Linked DNA regions of Homo sapiens: all the other regions are linked to region 4. The links are contacts of gene promoters, found by promoter capture Hi-C in blood cells and fetal thymus (Javierre and others, 2016). All regions are on one chromosome and are shown on one strand. Each heading gives the region's core, a stretch centred on a gene start or on the middle of the fragment in contact. The rest is flanking DNA. Distances are from core to core; before and after follow the strand shown.

Region 1 (3,683 bases), core at 1,174-3,673, 1.5 Mb before region 4:
ACTGTGGTTTTGATTTGCATTTCCTTGATGGTGAATGATGTGGAGGATCTTTCCTGCTTATTTTTATTTTTATTTATTTATTTATTTATTTATTTGAGATGGAGTTTTGCTTTTGTCACCCAGGCTACAGTGCAATGGCGCGATCTTGGCTCACCGCAACCTCCGCCTCCCGAGTTCAAGTGATTCTCCTGCCTCAGCCTCCCAAGTAGCTGGGATTACAGGCATGTGCCACCATGCCCGGCTAATTTTGTATTTTTAGTAGAGATGGGGCTTCTCGATGTTGGTGAGTCTGGTCTCAAACTCCTGATCTCAGGAGATCCTCCCACCTCGGCCTCCCCGAGTGCTGGGATTACAGGCATGAGCCACCGTGCCCAGCCTCCTGCTTGTTTTTGTAAATAAAGTTTGGAACACAGCCATGCTAGCTCATTCATTTACATGGTGTCTGTAGCTGGTTTCTCATGATAATGGCAGACTTGGGTGGTTGTGACAGAACCTACAAAGCCTAAGATATTTATTATATAGTCCTTACAGAAAAAGTTTGCTGATTCCTGCTCTACACTACAGAGGCTTATAATCTTGCTGTGAAGGTTTGTTTATATCAAGTTCCCAATATACTGGAAGTGTTAAGCAAATGTAAGTTTCTTCCTTTCCTCCATCTTTCCCTCCCGCCACTCCTCTCTCTCTTCCTTTCTTTCCTAGGGCTCTTTCTCAGAGCAGACAAGATTAGGCCTCCATCTGCAGCTCCAATTTCTCCCTAAAGCTGTCTTCACCTCCCTCCGGCCTGCCCCTCCAGGTATGTCTGTCCACCAGGTGCCAGGTGTGGCTGCCCAAAGATACCTCTGTCTTCCATCAGCCTTCTCCAGGAGGCTTCCCAGGGCAGGGGCTCCACAGGAGGTGTTGCTAGTCTGGAGGTCTCCTAGTGACCATTCATCCCCCCAAGACAAGGGGGTGCTATCCTTGAGGCTGATGGCAGCTTCAAGCTAATCTCCCAGGGACAGGGATGCCCTGGAGGAAGAGGCCCAGGGGGAAGGAAGCCAGGATCACCTCCACTCATCCTCAGGATAATAACTAGAGGGGGCAGGCTCCCCAGTGCTTCCAGAGACCCTTTCATGAAGTTGTTGAGCCCCAGGGTACAGACCAGGGCTGTGGGACCCCAGACTTACTGCCATCTCCTAAGCTTCTTCCTTGGCAAAGTGAAAGCATTGGAAGGATGAGTCTTTTGGGGACAGTGAGGAGGGAGGAGGAGGAAACTGGGAGTCTCTGAAATTTGGCTGGTGAGAGGGGAGCCCAGTCCAAGCTCCTGGTGCCTGAGGAAAGGGCAATGCTGATGAGCCTGAGCAGCAGGAAGGGCCCCAGTTCCCTCCTATCTCGGTCCCCTTCCCACAGCCGCCCCCCACCACCTCTGGGCTGCTTAACTGCAGTAGACTCCTCACTGGTCTCCTCACCCCGATTCTGCCCCCAAGCCCTCTTCCAAGGTAGAATAAAGTTAGGGGTCAGGCTCTGGGCCCGGGTTGGCATATGAGCTCCAGAACTTCCAGCTGAGTGACTTTGGGCACCCACTTACTTTCCTTGTGCTGCTTCCTGATCTATAAAGTGGGAGACCACTGCTGTCTACCTCCTTAGTTGCTGTGAGCCATAAACTCAATAATCCACGTAAAGGGTTTAGGACAATAAATGTTAACTTACTTTTATTTCTCAACGTGCAGAGCTTTATTTCTGAAATAGAAATCTGACCAGTCAGTCCTCTGCTAAAAACCCTCCTAGGGACCCCTGAAGCTATGGGAAGGAGCTTGTTTTGTTTTTGTCACCAGGCTGGAGTGCAGTGGCACGATCTCTGTCACCCAGGCTGGAATGCAGTGGCACGATCTCCACTTACTGCAACCTCTGCCTTCTGGGTTCAAGCAAGTCTTATGCCTCAGTCTACTGAGTAGCTGCGACTACAGACATGTACCACCACGCTGGCTAATTTTTGTACTTTTAGTAGAGATGGGATTTCGCCATGTTGGCCAGGCTGGTCTCGAACTCCTGACCTCAAGTGATCTGCCTGTCTCGGCCTCCCAAAGTGCTGGGATTATAGGTGTGAGCCACTGTGCCGGCAGTGAAGGGGCTTGTTCTGACCCTGAGCTTGCCAGCCTCTGCATGTCTTTACCACACCCCTCCTGCCCACACCCAGCACCCCCTTACGTTCCCTAGTTCACCTGTCAGGGCCTTTCCCTGAGTGATCGGTTCTGCCAGGCGCCCTGCTCTTGTCCCTGTCCCCTCTTCTGGGACGTCCCTCCTTGACTTCCACGCACAGCATGGACACATGGGTGTGCAGAAGTGGAAAGGGGTACTCGGTGCACAGATATCATATGGCATTTTGCAAGCCATGAAGCAGGGCCCCACCCCAGTGGGCTGTTGGTCACTGTGGGTCCCACTGTCTGCTGTTGTGTTTGAAAATAGCCTCTGGCCTTATGCCTCTCCACCTAAGCACATAATGTATGACGTGGGTTCTTAAAACTTGGAATCAGTTAAAATGTATCTTATTTTAAACAAAACTAATCCATGCTATTAGAAGTCAGGAAAGCAATTACCCTAGGGTGGGGCTTCCAGGGTGCTGGGGATGTTCTGATTTTTGATCTGGGTGTTGGTTTCTTCGGTCTTTTCAGTTTATGAAAATCCATCGAAGTTTTCTGTGTGTATATTACCCTCCAATAAAAATGTCAAAACTGTTTTGTTTCGGTAATTTCCTCTTTCACCCCTATATCCCTTGACATACCTGTAGATACAGAACTGTAAAACCTAAGGCAACAATGCCCAGGCTAAATAATTCATAATCCAATTCCATAAGTGCCATTTACTCTGTGCTGGGCCCTGTGCTGGGGGCCCAGGGGACTGAATCAACCACAGCCCAGTCCTCCAGAAACTCCTGGTCTGTGGGGATGGGGAAATGCAGCCTAGCATGGGGTGGAGAGGTCATAAAAGCAGATCCAAGAGGAGGGGATGTCACTGCTTTCTAGAGAATCATAAAGCCAAGAGGGACATAGGGGCATAACAGAGATCAACAGGTTACTTGAGGGTTTGGTATATGCCGGCCGTTTCTGTTCTAAATGCTTTTCCATGTGGTGGCTAACTTAATCCTCAAAGTAACAGGAACACCGGGAGGTAGGTACTATCATTTTCACCTTTTCACAGTGAGGAAAGAATCACAGAAGAGCCAGGTAACCTATCTAAGTATAATCAGCCAGAAAGTGGGAGAGATAAGACTTGAACCCAGGCTGTCAGCTTCAGAACTCAACTCGTGCTCAGCCTCCAGGCTAAACTGTGCTGTGGGGAAAATAATGTTCAGTTAAATGCCCAAATACACAACGAGGCTCGACATACAGATGTGCTCCATGAACAATGGCTACTACTGACAATAAGAAAGAAACAACCTATTAGAGAAAAAGTTAACCTGAAACTGAACATGACGCCTTTTGCTCATTCATTAAGATCGGCCACGCCGCCTTCCGGGAACTGGATGCCCCCGGGAGCTCAGCCATACCCTAAGAAAAGGAGATTTTGTAGCTGGGCCTGAAGGATAAACTGAGCGGATTGGGTCAGGTGAGCTGTGAGGGAGGGTGCACCCAGCAGAGAGAGCAATAGTGGCAAAAGCCCAGAGGTGCAAAAATGTGTGTGTTTGCAAGCTTAGCTGGGCAGAGCTC
Region 2 (3,666 bases), core at 588-3,087, 1.6 Mb before region 4:
TGTAATCCCAGCTACTCAGGAGGCCTAGGCAAGAGAATAGCTTGAACCCAGGAGGCAGAGGTTGTGGTGAGCTGAGATCACACCACTGCACTCCAGCCTGGGCGACAGAGACTCGTTTTCAAAAAAAAAAAAAAAAAAAAAGGTCAGGTGCGGTGGCTCACACCTGCGCACCTGTAATCCCAGCACTTTGGGAGGCCAAGGCGGGTGGATCACAAGGTCAAGAGACTGAGACCATCCTGGCAAACATGGTGAAACCCAATCTCTACTAAAAATACAAAAATTAGCTGGGCATGGTGGTGCACGCCCGTAGTCCCAGCTACTCGGGAGGCTGAGGCAGGAGACTCGCTTGAACCCAGGAGGCGGAGGTTGCAGTGAGCCGAGATTGTGCCACTGCACTCCAGCCTGGTGACAGAGTGAGACTAAAAAAAAAAAAAAAAAGTGGGGGGAGTGGGGGAGAAGCAAAGAGAAGAGTGAATGGAACAAGGTGGGCACCAGACAGGGAGGATGGGGTGCCAGAGGGTGAGGCTCTTCTTGCGTGAGGATCTCTCCTCCACAGCATCCGTCCCCCCAGCTGATCACCTTTATGGCCAATCCGTTTTCCCAAATGGCGTCGTATTGGCTTCCGCTGGGGAAGTACAGGGTTCCCTCGCCGTGAAACATGCCATCCTTCATTTCCCCAACATATATTGTTTCGGTAGGGAGGATGTACTTGGCTTTGCCCTCCATCCTGTAAAGACACAGGGAAATCACTGAGCCCTGTGTGACAGCTGGAGGATCAGAGCTGGCAGGCAACAGAGTGAGCAGGAACCCCGTTCTCAGCATTCTCATCCTTCTCATCCCAGCAGTACTCTGCTGAAAACAAAATTTTTGTTTTGTTTCCCTCAAAAGCTCAAAAACGAAAAGAGGGGAATAGAGTTTGCTCTGTTCATTCTCCCCTTCACCTAGAGGCTCACTCTCACCTTGGAGTTCACACTGCTCCCTGAAATAAACCCCCCTAGTAGGCCCAGAGAGCGTAGAGATGTGCCCAAAACCACACACAGTAAAAACTGTGGACACTAGAGCCCAGGTTTTCTGGCAGCTAGTTCTGTGATTTCTCTGTCCCCCATGACCAACCCATCCTTGCCTATTATGCCACAAGTGGAATATTAGGGAAAATATGAAATTTAGAGACAGGAGTAAGGGTTTGAAGCTTACCACCATTATATATATATATAATCTTGGATACTAATATTGTTTGGCTGTGTCCCCACCCAAATCTCATCGGGAATTGTAGCTCCCATAATCCCCACATGTCATGGGAGGGACTCAGTGGGAGGTAACTGAATCATGGGGGTGGGTTTTTCCCATGCTGTTCTCATGATAGTGAATAAGTCTCATGAGATCTGATGGTTTTATAAAGGGCAATTCCCCTGAACATGCTCTCTTGCCTGCTGCCATGTAAGATGTGCCCTTGCTCCCCCTTTGCGTCCACCATGATCGTGAGGCCTTCCCAGCCATGTGGAACTGTGAGTCCATTAAGCCTCTTTCCTTTATAGATTACCCAGTCTTTGGTTATGTCCTTACAGCAGCATGAGAACAGACTAATACAGATACTTTCCCAAACCTCTTTGCTTGTGCCTCCCTCCCTTCCTTCCCTTCCTTCTTTCCTTCCAAACAGGTATTTACAGAGCACCTACATTTTGTCAGGGACTATGCTGATGGTCCAACTTGCTGAATACAACACAGATTCAACAGTGATCAAGGCAGATGCGGTCCCTGTCCTCGGGGGGCTCACAGTCTAGTGGGGGACAAAATTGAGTAATTATACAATGTGTGATAAGTGCTATGCAGGAGGAAGACAGGCTCATACAGGAGAACAAGGCAGGGACACCAGCTTGACCAGTTGACTAGCTTCTTTGTTTTGTTTTTTGTTTTTTTCCCAAGACCAGATCTTGTTCTGTCTCCCAGGCTGCAGTACAGCTGTGTGATCATGGCTCAATGCAGCCTCAATCCCCTGAACTCAAGTGATCCTCCCACCTCAGCCTCCCAAGTAGTTGGAACCACAGGTGTGCCCCACCACGCCTGGCTTATTTAATTTTTTTTTTTTTTTTTTTTTTTTTGTAGAGACGGGGTTTCCCTATGTTGCCCAGGCTGATCTAGAACTTCTGGGCTCAAATGATCCTCCTGCCTCAGCCTCCCAAAATGTTGGGATTACAGGTGTGAGCCACTGCACTGGGCTGACCAGTTTCTTTATGGGTGAAATGGCTGCAATTAATCCAGGTAACATATAACGATTTTCCTAGTAAAGGGCCTGACATATATATAGTGAGTGCTTAATAAATATGCTTTCATTCATTCCTTCTCCATTCCTCCTAACAAGCTGAAGGCTCCTCTCCTAACTCTGACCTTCTTTAGGCTTTTGCTAATACCTCTGTCGGGATGTGTAACACTTTCTATCTTGTTTTGTAATTAGGTATCTTATCTCCTGTATTTAAGAAAAGCTTCTTTAAAGGAAGACTTTGGTATCCTCAGCTCCTAGAACCATTAAGCAGGTGCTTCATAAACGTCTCCTGAGTAAAGAATGAAGGAAACAGAAAGAGTAGTCAGTGAACAGAGTGGATGACAAAGTTGTTGAGATAACTGAGTGAGACGATGGTTGTGAAACTATAGCAGAATGCCCGGCATAGAACAAGAAATTGAAAACTATTTCACTTTTATTCTAGTGCAAGACATGGGGGGAAGGGAGAATTCCTCTTCTCCTTCCCTCCTGTACTCTTTGCTTGAGCTCACATCTATCATTTCTAAGCACCATCTCCATATTCAAGTTCTACACCCTTCTCTGAGGTTAGACCCCACCCCTTTTCTTACCTTGAACTGGACATCACTGTTCAGACCTCTCACAGACATCTCCAACTCGCCTAAAACAGAACTCATCTCCTCCTCCCCTAAGCAGCACCTCCTTAGAGTTCTCTATTTCCATGAATGGTATCAGAATCCTCTGGTTCAAGGCCAGGAGCTGGGCCCAGGGCTGGGGCTGTAAGCCATCTCTGGACGGGACTGGAGCCAATCAGCTGCCAACTCCTGGCAGTAAAATCCCCAAACCTCTCCTACATTTTTCTCTTTCCTGCAGCTTCACTGCTTCTGCCTTGGCCCAGGGTTCTGCTGCCTCTTACTGGGACAACTGCAGTGAGCTCTGAGCTGATCTCCCCATCTTCACTTTTCCTGCTTCCCTCCTCTCTGTCCCTCCTTCTCTCCTTCTCCTCCCTTCTTCTTTTTCTCCTTCACTCTCTCTCTCTCTTTCCCTTCCTTTCTCCCTCCTTCTCTTCCATTTTAAAAAATTCATTCAAGGTGAAAAGCCTGCCTTCTAAATTCAAAGTAAGTTAAAAAGAAGAAAAAAACCACTTTATAGTGAAGGCTTCAATCCATAATAAGGATATGATTACCAGATCTCAAATACCTATCAATTAGCTGGGCATGGTGGCGCATATCTGTGGTCCCAGCTACTGGGGAGGCTGAGGTGGGAGGATCGCTTGAGTCCGGTGGGGTGGACATTGCTGTGAGCCAAGACTGCACCACTGCACTCCAGCCAGAGCACTCCAGAGTGAGACCCTGTCTCAAACAAACCCCTCAAAACCTATGATTCATTCATTCATTCATTCAGCCAACATTTACTGAGTCTCTACCACA
Region 3 (3,661 bases), core at 961-3,460, 1.7 Mb before region 4:
GACAGCATTTAATTAAAATTTTATTTGGTTCCTTATGCACTGATTACCAATTAGGATGCCCTTTAATGTGAGTCTAAAGCATGATTGAGGTTTGAGGTCTTCCATGGTATAGAACTAGAGCTCTGGAACATGCCACCCTCTCCTGTGTTAACACAAGTTACGCATTCTACATCTGAGGTCTTTGACCATGGAAAGATGCCATCGCCTACAACTACCTCAGGATAGAACACAGCCCTAGCTAACTGACAAATATATCATTGATAGCTTCTGCCAGTAATGTTGCTATGGCTCAGGTAAAAATTAAGAACAATTAGTATCAAATACCTGGAAGCTGTTTCCTTTGAGTAACAGTCCCACACCTTATTTTTTTTTTTAAATCCCATCCTAAAATTTTGATCCAACACAATGGAATGAATAACATGGGCTTTGCCGTCAGGAAGACCTGGAAGCCAATCCTAGCTCCATTACTGACTAAATATTCCTGAATATTTCTGCTCCTTGATTTCTTCAACTATAAAATGGGAATAATTGTACTCATTTCTTAGGGTTAGGAATAATTAATGAGGTTATGCAAGTAAAGCCCTTGACACAGTACTTAGCAAACAGCAGGAGCCCCCCAAAATAATACCTGTTGATAGCTATCACCTTTTTTTTCAAACTTTTAAAAAAATATTATCTTTATTATCTTTTGAGACTGAGTCACACTCTGTTGCCCAGGATGGAGTACAGTGGCACGATCTTGGCTCACAGCAACCTCCACTCCCAGGTTCAAGCAATTCTCATGCCTCAGCCTCCCAAGTAGCTGGGATTACAGGCACATGCCACCATGCCCAGCGAATTTTTTTGTATTTTTAGTAGAGACAGGGTTTCACCATGTTGCCCAGGCTGGTCTTGAACTCCTGGGCTCAGGCAATCCACCTGCCTTGGCCTCCCAAAGTGCTAGGATTACAGGTGTGAGCCACCATGCCCGGCCTCTAAAACTTTTATGCCAGGGTCAGACACAATAAAGAAACCTTGTATGTTATTAATGATGTACAAAATAGCCTACAATCAGTCAGACCTGGATGTAAATTTCAACTTTAGGCAATTTACTCTTCTTTTCTGAGCATCACTTTCCTCATCAATGATAAAAATAACCTTGAACTTAAAATAAAATTTAATAATGAATACATGTAAACAACTAACATAGTGCCAGGAATATAGCAGCTTAATGAATGATGGCTATTATTATTATTATTTTTTTTTTTTTTGAGACAGAGTCTCACTCTGTCGCCCAGGCTGGAGTGCAGTGGCACGATCTCGGCTCACTGCAAGCTCCGCCTCCCGGGTACACGCCATTCTACTGCCTCAGCCTCCCAAGTAGCTGGGACTACAGGCGCCTGCCACCACGCCCGGCTAATTTTTTGTATTTTTTAGTAGAGACGGGGTTTCACCTTGTTAGCCAGGTTGGTCTCGATCTCCTGACCTCGTGATCCACCCACCTCGGCCTCCCAAAGTGCTAGGATTACAGGCGTGAGCCACCGCACCCGGCCTAATGATGGATATTATTTTTAAAGCAAATGAGTAGCACAAAGGCAAATCATTTCTCGCGATGGAATTTTTAACAGTAAGGGATACTAGAAGTTAGTGATCAGTGTATGAAGTCTATAAAACCAGATTTGATGAAAAAAGGGAATATTTTTCTTCTTTACTAGTATCAATAGCTACTATTAATTGAGGTCAAGTTTGGACTGTTTGCTTTAACCATACTATTTCATTTAATTCTCTCAATAATGCCACAAAGAACGTATAATAATCCCCATTTTACAGATGCTGAAACTGAGGTTCAGAGAGATTAAGTCACTGTCCAAGGACATGGAGCTAATAGCCAAGCTCTATTTTAGCAGAACTGTTCACAGAGGTTTGGCTCAGAGTGAAGTTTCTATATCTAGGTTTTTCCCTAATAAAACCAATGCCTAACTCATACTTATAACCAAATATGGCTGTAGAATAATGAGTAGATTTTATTTTAGTCTACAGGGTCTCAATCTGGCTGCTCCATTTAAGACAGGTTTCCTGGTATTCCTGTTGCAGGTCATAATACCAACTCACAAAGCAACAGGAAATCAAAATGGGTTAGAAATAAACAACCTTTGACAGAAAACGCAGCACCCAAAAGCAGACCCAGTACACGTGAACCGGAAGACAACTCTATAAATAAACCACATCGCTGAAATGCTTAAGGCGTAGATTTTAATTGCACAGAAGTCAAGAAATTTCAAAGTGGAAGTTCAATAAAAGCAGTCCTTTAGGTCCTTTACCTTAAGGGTATACAAATTAACATTCAGTTCAGCACAGATAAAGAATTAAAGTTGAAGAAAAATTTGTTGAGATCCCAAGTATGAGCCAACAAAATTAACCTATACATAGAAGCAATGTGGGGAAGTGTCTGAGCTTTGGACGCAGTCTGGAACTGGAATCTCAATTCCCCCACTTACTAGCTGTGTGACCTTGGGGAGGTCATTTAGCCTCTCTGAGCTACAGCTTCCACATCATCATCATAGTGATATTAATGAGACTTTAAAAGATAACAATAATGACAATACCTAACATTTATATAACAATGACTACGTGACAGAAACTATTCTAAGTGGTTTATGCACATGAACTCATTTCAGCCTCATGATAACCCTGAAGTAAGTACTATGATTATTCCCACTTTACAGATAAGAAAACAGAAGCAAAAATCTGCCCAAGATTTGAATTCAGTCAATCTAGCTCTAGAGTCTATGTTATTAACTGCTATACAATGCATATAGAACACTCAGCATGGCTGGGAACAGTGATGGGTGCCTATAGTCCCAGTTACTTGGGATGCTAAGGAAGGAGGATCACTTCAGGCCAGGAGTCCAAGGCCAGCCTTGGCAATATAGTGAGACCTAGTCACTTAACAAAACACATACACACAGTACAATGCCTGGCATCCAGTAGGTACACAATAAATTGTAGCTATTATAATAGCATCCCAACTATTAAATTTTTTTTTTTTTTTTTTTGAGACAGAGTCTCACTCTGTTGCCCAGGCTGGAGAGCAGTGGCACGTTCTCAGCTCACTGCAACCTATGCCTTCCAGGTTCAGGGGATTCTCCTGCCTCAGCCTCCTGAGTAGGTGGGACTACAGGCACCCACCACCACACCCAGTTAACTTTTATATATTTTAAGTAGAGATGGGGTTTCACCATGTTGGCCAGGCTGGTCTCAAACTCCTTACCTCAGGTGATCTGCCCGCCTCGGCCTCCCAAAGTGCTGGGATTACCGGCGTGAGCCACTGCGCCGGCCTGAATTTTTTTTCTTTTTTTTTTTTTTTGAGACGGAGTCTCACTCTGTCGCCCAGGCTGGAGTGCAGTGGCGCAATCTTGGCTCACTGCAACCTCCGCCTCCAGGGTTCAAGCCATTCTCCTAACTCAACCTCCCAAATAGCTGGGATTACAGGCGTGCGCCACCACACCCAGCTAATTTTTGTATTTTTAGTAGACGGGGTTTCACCGTGTTAGCCAGGATGGTCTCGACCCCCTGACCTCGTGATCCGCCCGCCTGGGCCTCCCAATGTGCTGAGATTACAGACTGAAATATTTTTTTAAACTACTTGAAGCACACATTCTTTTTCCAAAGTTGAGGGTCT
Region 4 (3,301 bases), core at 360-2,859:
TTAACATACATTTTCAAATAGCTGCTGAGTGGCAGACATAGTGCTAGGTGTTGAGGATATAGCAGTGAACAATTCAGAATATAGTCCCTGCCCCATGCAGCTTCCAGTCTAGTGCAAGGAAAGACATTTAAAAAATGATTTTACACACACACACACACACACAAATTGCAAAATATGGTAAGTGCCACAAAGGAATAATTTGCATTGCTAGGAATACAAGAAGTGGCTTGATTTAGATTAAATGACTAGGGAAGGCTTCTTTTGAAAAGTATCAATAATTGGTTAATTACTTAACTGAAGAATGAGGGCCTGGTGCAGTGGCTCAGGCCTATAACCCCAGCACTTTGGGAGGCCAAGGTGGGAGGATTGCTTGAGGCCAGGAGTTCAAGACCAGCCTGGGCAACATAGTGAGACCCTGTCTCTATTTAAAAAAAAAAAAAAAAGAATGAGGAAACAGGGTGAAAGGGGAATTGTTCAAGATTACTGGGAAAGTCACTATCTATCCACTCACCAACCATTTCAAGTTATTTTCATCGGGCTCTCTCACAAGGGCCTGCAGAGGAAGGAGCAACACTGAGTTGAGGAGGGGAAGGTTAATTTCATTGCTTAAGCTCTGCCAAGATTATCTAAGTGTTTGGTGATTGCTATGTGCTTTAAGAAAGGCAGCCAAGGGGCCGGTGCTGTGGCTCACGCCTGTAATCCCAGCAGTTTGGAAGGCCGGGGTGGGCAGATCACGAGGTCAGGAGATTGAGACCATCCTGGCCAACATGGTGAAACCCCGTCTCTACTAAACATACAAAAATTACCCGGGTGTGGTGGCGCAAGGCCGAGGCAGAAGAATCGCTTAAACCCAGAAGGTGAAGGTTGCAGTGAGCTGAGATCGGGCCACTGCACTCCAGCCTGGCGACAGAGGCACCATTTCAAAAAAAAAAAAAAAGAAAGGCAGCCAGGGTTATGCAGAGAGCCCTCATCTAGTTGGCAGGAGCTGCAGACCCCCACTCCAGTTGAAAGACATTGTCAATACTTAATTACTTTGGGAGAGTCCTTTCCTCTTGCTGGCCCTCAGTTTTCTGACCACAGGTGCCTTTGAGTCCTAATGGTAATAAAAGACCAATAGGTGAGAGACTGGAGTGGGAGTGCTGTTGACCACTGGCTCATGGGAATGAGTTATTTGCTTCAAACTAAGTCTGCAAATTACTGTTTGCCTTGAGATTCCGCACGTAGTATTTTTCCAAAGCAAGGCAGCACTCAGTTATCTGAGTTTCAACTTAAGGTCAAATCCCAAAGTTTTGGGGTCATTATTCTAGAAAAGCAAACACGAGGTTAGGAACTTTGAGGATTCCTGAGTGGCTGTATTCATTTCCATCTCCCGCGTAAATTAACGGACTAGGGCCCGCTTTGGCCCTCAACAAAGATGGCACCCGCCCTCGCCTCTCCCTAAGTGCCCTCACAAAAAATGGCAGCCGGCCTTTTTTTGTCTCTTATTTTTGCTTGGCTTAAGCACGGATGCTTTGCCCTTAGTTAAGATGGCACCTATCCCCGCTTCCCTGCCCGTCCTCTGGCGCCAGCCGGTCGGCTTCACTGCGTGCGCCTCCGTGACCCCGCCTCGTTTCCGTAGGAAGAAGCGCCGGGAAAGATGGCGGCGTCTGTGGTTTGAATTCCAGCGGCGCCGCCAGAGTCTGAACAAGAGCTGGGGTGGAGGGGGCGGGGACCTGGGGAGCCCGGCGGGTCGCTATCGCGGGGGGTACTAGTGGCGCCGCCGCCACAGACACCAACGCTGTCGCCACCTCTGTAGCCATGATGGACTTGGTGTTGGAAGAGGACGTCACCGTCCCTGGGACGCTCAGCGGCTGCAGGTGCGGCCGGGGCATTGGTGGTCGTGGTAACCGGGCCGGGGTTCCAGCTGGTGGGATTTCGTTCTAACGCGGCCTTGGGGTTTGCTCTTGAGGGTGTCTGGCCAGGGGCAGTGTGTGGGGTGGGTTCCTTCGGAGAGGGTCTCTGGGGGGCCCACCACCTGACACTCTGGAGGGCTGGGAGCCGCGACCTGCACCACAATTGCCAGTAGCATTGCGCCATGTACTTTGTAGAGCGTGTGAAGAACAGGTAAGGAGTTTTCTGAAAGAGTAGGACGAGGGTGGGGCCACTTGGAGTATCCCGTTAGTGGGGATTGGTGGAGAACAGGGACCTTGAGGGCACCTGATGGTTCCTTCTGGTTTGAGAGTTTGTTTTCATTATGGAGAGAGTGTAGCCGGTATGCCCAGACTTTGCTTTTTGGGTCACATAGTGGCCACCCAGGAGGCAATGGAGTGCAATGATTAAGAACCTTGGCTAGAGTTGGACAAAACTGGATTCAAATCCAGCCCTGTAAACTGACTAGCTGTGTGACCTTGGTAAAGTGATTTCACCGGCTTTCCCATCTGTAAAATGGGCTAGTAATATCCACCCAACAGAGTTGGGGTGAGGATTAAAAGAGGTGATGCCTGTCGAGCCATTTGCTTGGCAGGTGTAGTGCCTGCCACATAATCAGTGCTTAAAAAATGATCTTGTGTTGCCATTAGTGTCATTATTACTACTGTCATCAAAGGTGATATGAATCAGGGAATAATGGCCAAGAGTGGCCTCCCATGGACCTGCCCCAAGAGACTGTGGGAGTCCCCATTGCTGGTGGAGCTGGGGTCTGGTAGGAAGGCCTAACAGAGCGCAACTCTGCTCCACGGCTGGCCCCTGTGGTTGTCCTAGACTCCTGGTTGGAGAGTGAGTAGAGGGAAGAGGAGGAGAGCCCTGACGGAGAACCTGCACTGTTTATCCAGCTCTACTATGGACAAGCTGCTGCTTTTAGTCAACAGATCCTAATTGAAAGGGTGACCATGTTATTTATTGTGCTAACTGGGACACTTAAGAGTGAAAAGAGCCAGGTGCGGTGGCTCACCTGTGTAATCCTAGCCCTTGGGGAGGCCGAGGTGGGCCGATTTCTTGAGCTCAGGAGTGTGAGATCAGCCTGGGCAACATGGTGAAATCCTATCTCTACAAAAACTACAAAGATTAGCCAGGCGTGGTGGCATGCACTTGTAGTCCCAGCCGCTCGGGAGGCTGAGGCAGGAGGATTGCATGAGCCCGGAAGGTTGATGCTGCAGTGAGCTGTGTTCATGCCACTGCACTGTAGCCTGGGTGACAAAGTGAGACTCTATCTTTAAAAAAAAAAAAAAGGAAAGTGAAAATAATTAATATTTATGCCCGGGCAGCAGACATAAAGAGGGCCTATCTTGGGTAAACCTGGACAAATGGTTTTTCTGTTTATTGA

Evidence for each region. The method cuts DNA at HindIII sites, captures the fragments that hold promoters and counts their contacts. A CHiCAGO score of 5 or more calls a contact.
Region 1: a fragment that was not itself captured here is called in contact with the fragment with the promoter of CDK5RAP2 in region 4 in 3 of 17 cell types (non-activated CD4 T cells, total CD8 T cells and naive CD8 T cells); the score reaches 8.0 in non-activated CD4 T cells.
Region 2: a contact is called between a fragment that was not itself captured here and the fragment with the promoter of CDK5RAP2 in region 4, in 1 of 17 cell types (activated CD4 T cells). The highest score is 6.4, in activated CD4 T cells.
Region 3: a contact is called between a fragment that was not itself captured here and the fragment with the promoter of CDK5RAP2 in region 4, in 1 of 17 cell types (non-activated CD4 T cells). The highest score is 5.4, in non-activated CD4 T cells.

The regions. Positions count from the first base shown.
Region 1 is chr9:122,099,525-122,103,207 of GRCh38, reverse strand. No RefSeq gene overlaps it. Among named protein-coding and RNA genes, the nearest start is that of TTLL11, 8.1 kb to the right of the region's middle. The HindIII fragment of the contact is 2,488 bases long and covers 1,180-3,667 here.
Region 2 is chr9:122,163,829-122,167,494 of GRCh38, reverse strand. MORN5 (MORN repeat containing 5) reads right to left here. Exons shown (of 5, transcript NM_198469.4): 2 at 580-727. Among named protein-coding and RNA genes, the nearest start is that of MORN5, 5.8 kb to the right of the region's middle. The HindIII fragment of the contact is 1,291 bases long and covers 1,192-2,482 here.
Region 3 is chr9:122,266,755-122,270,415 of GRCh38, reverse strand. All of the region lies in intron 1 of MRRF (mitochondrial ribosome recycling factor), which reads right to left. Among named protein-coding and RNA genes, the nearest start is that of MRRF, 3.7 kb to the right of the region's middle. The HindIII fragment of the contact is 5,207 bases long and covers 1-3,661 here.
Region 4 is chr9:120,578,475-120,581,775 of GRCh38, reverse strand. It overlaps CDK5RAP2 (CDK5 regulatory subunit associated protein 2), which reads left to right and starts at 1,609. Exons shown (of 38, transcript NM_018249.6): 1 at 1,609-1,856. The coding sequence starts at 1,798. RefSeq lists enhancers at 1,392-1,521, 1,375-1,937. The HindIII fragment of the contact is 6,111 bases long and covers 1-3,301 here.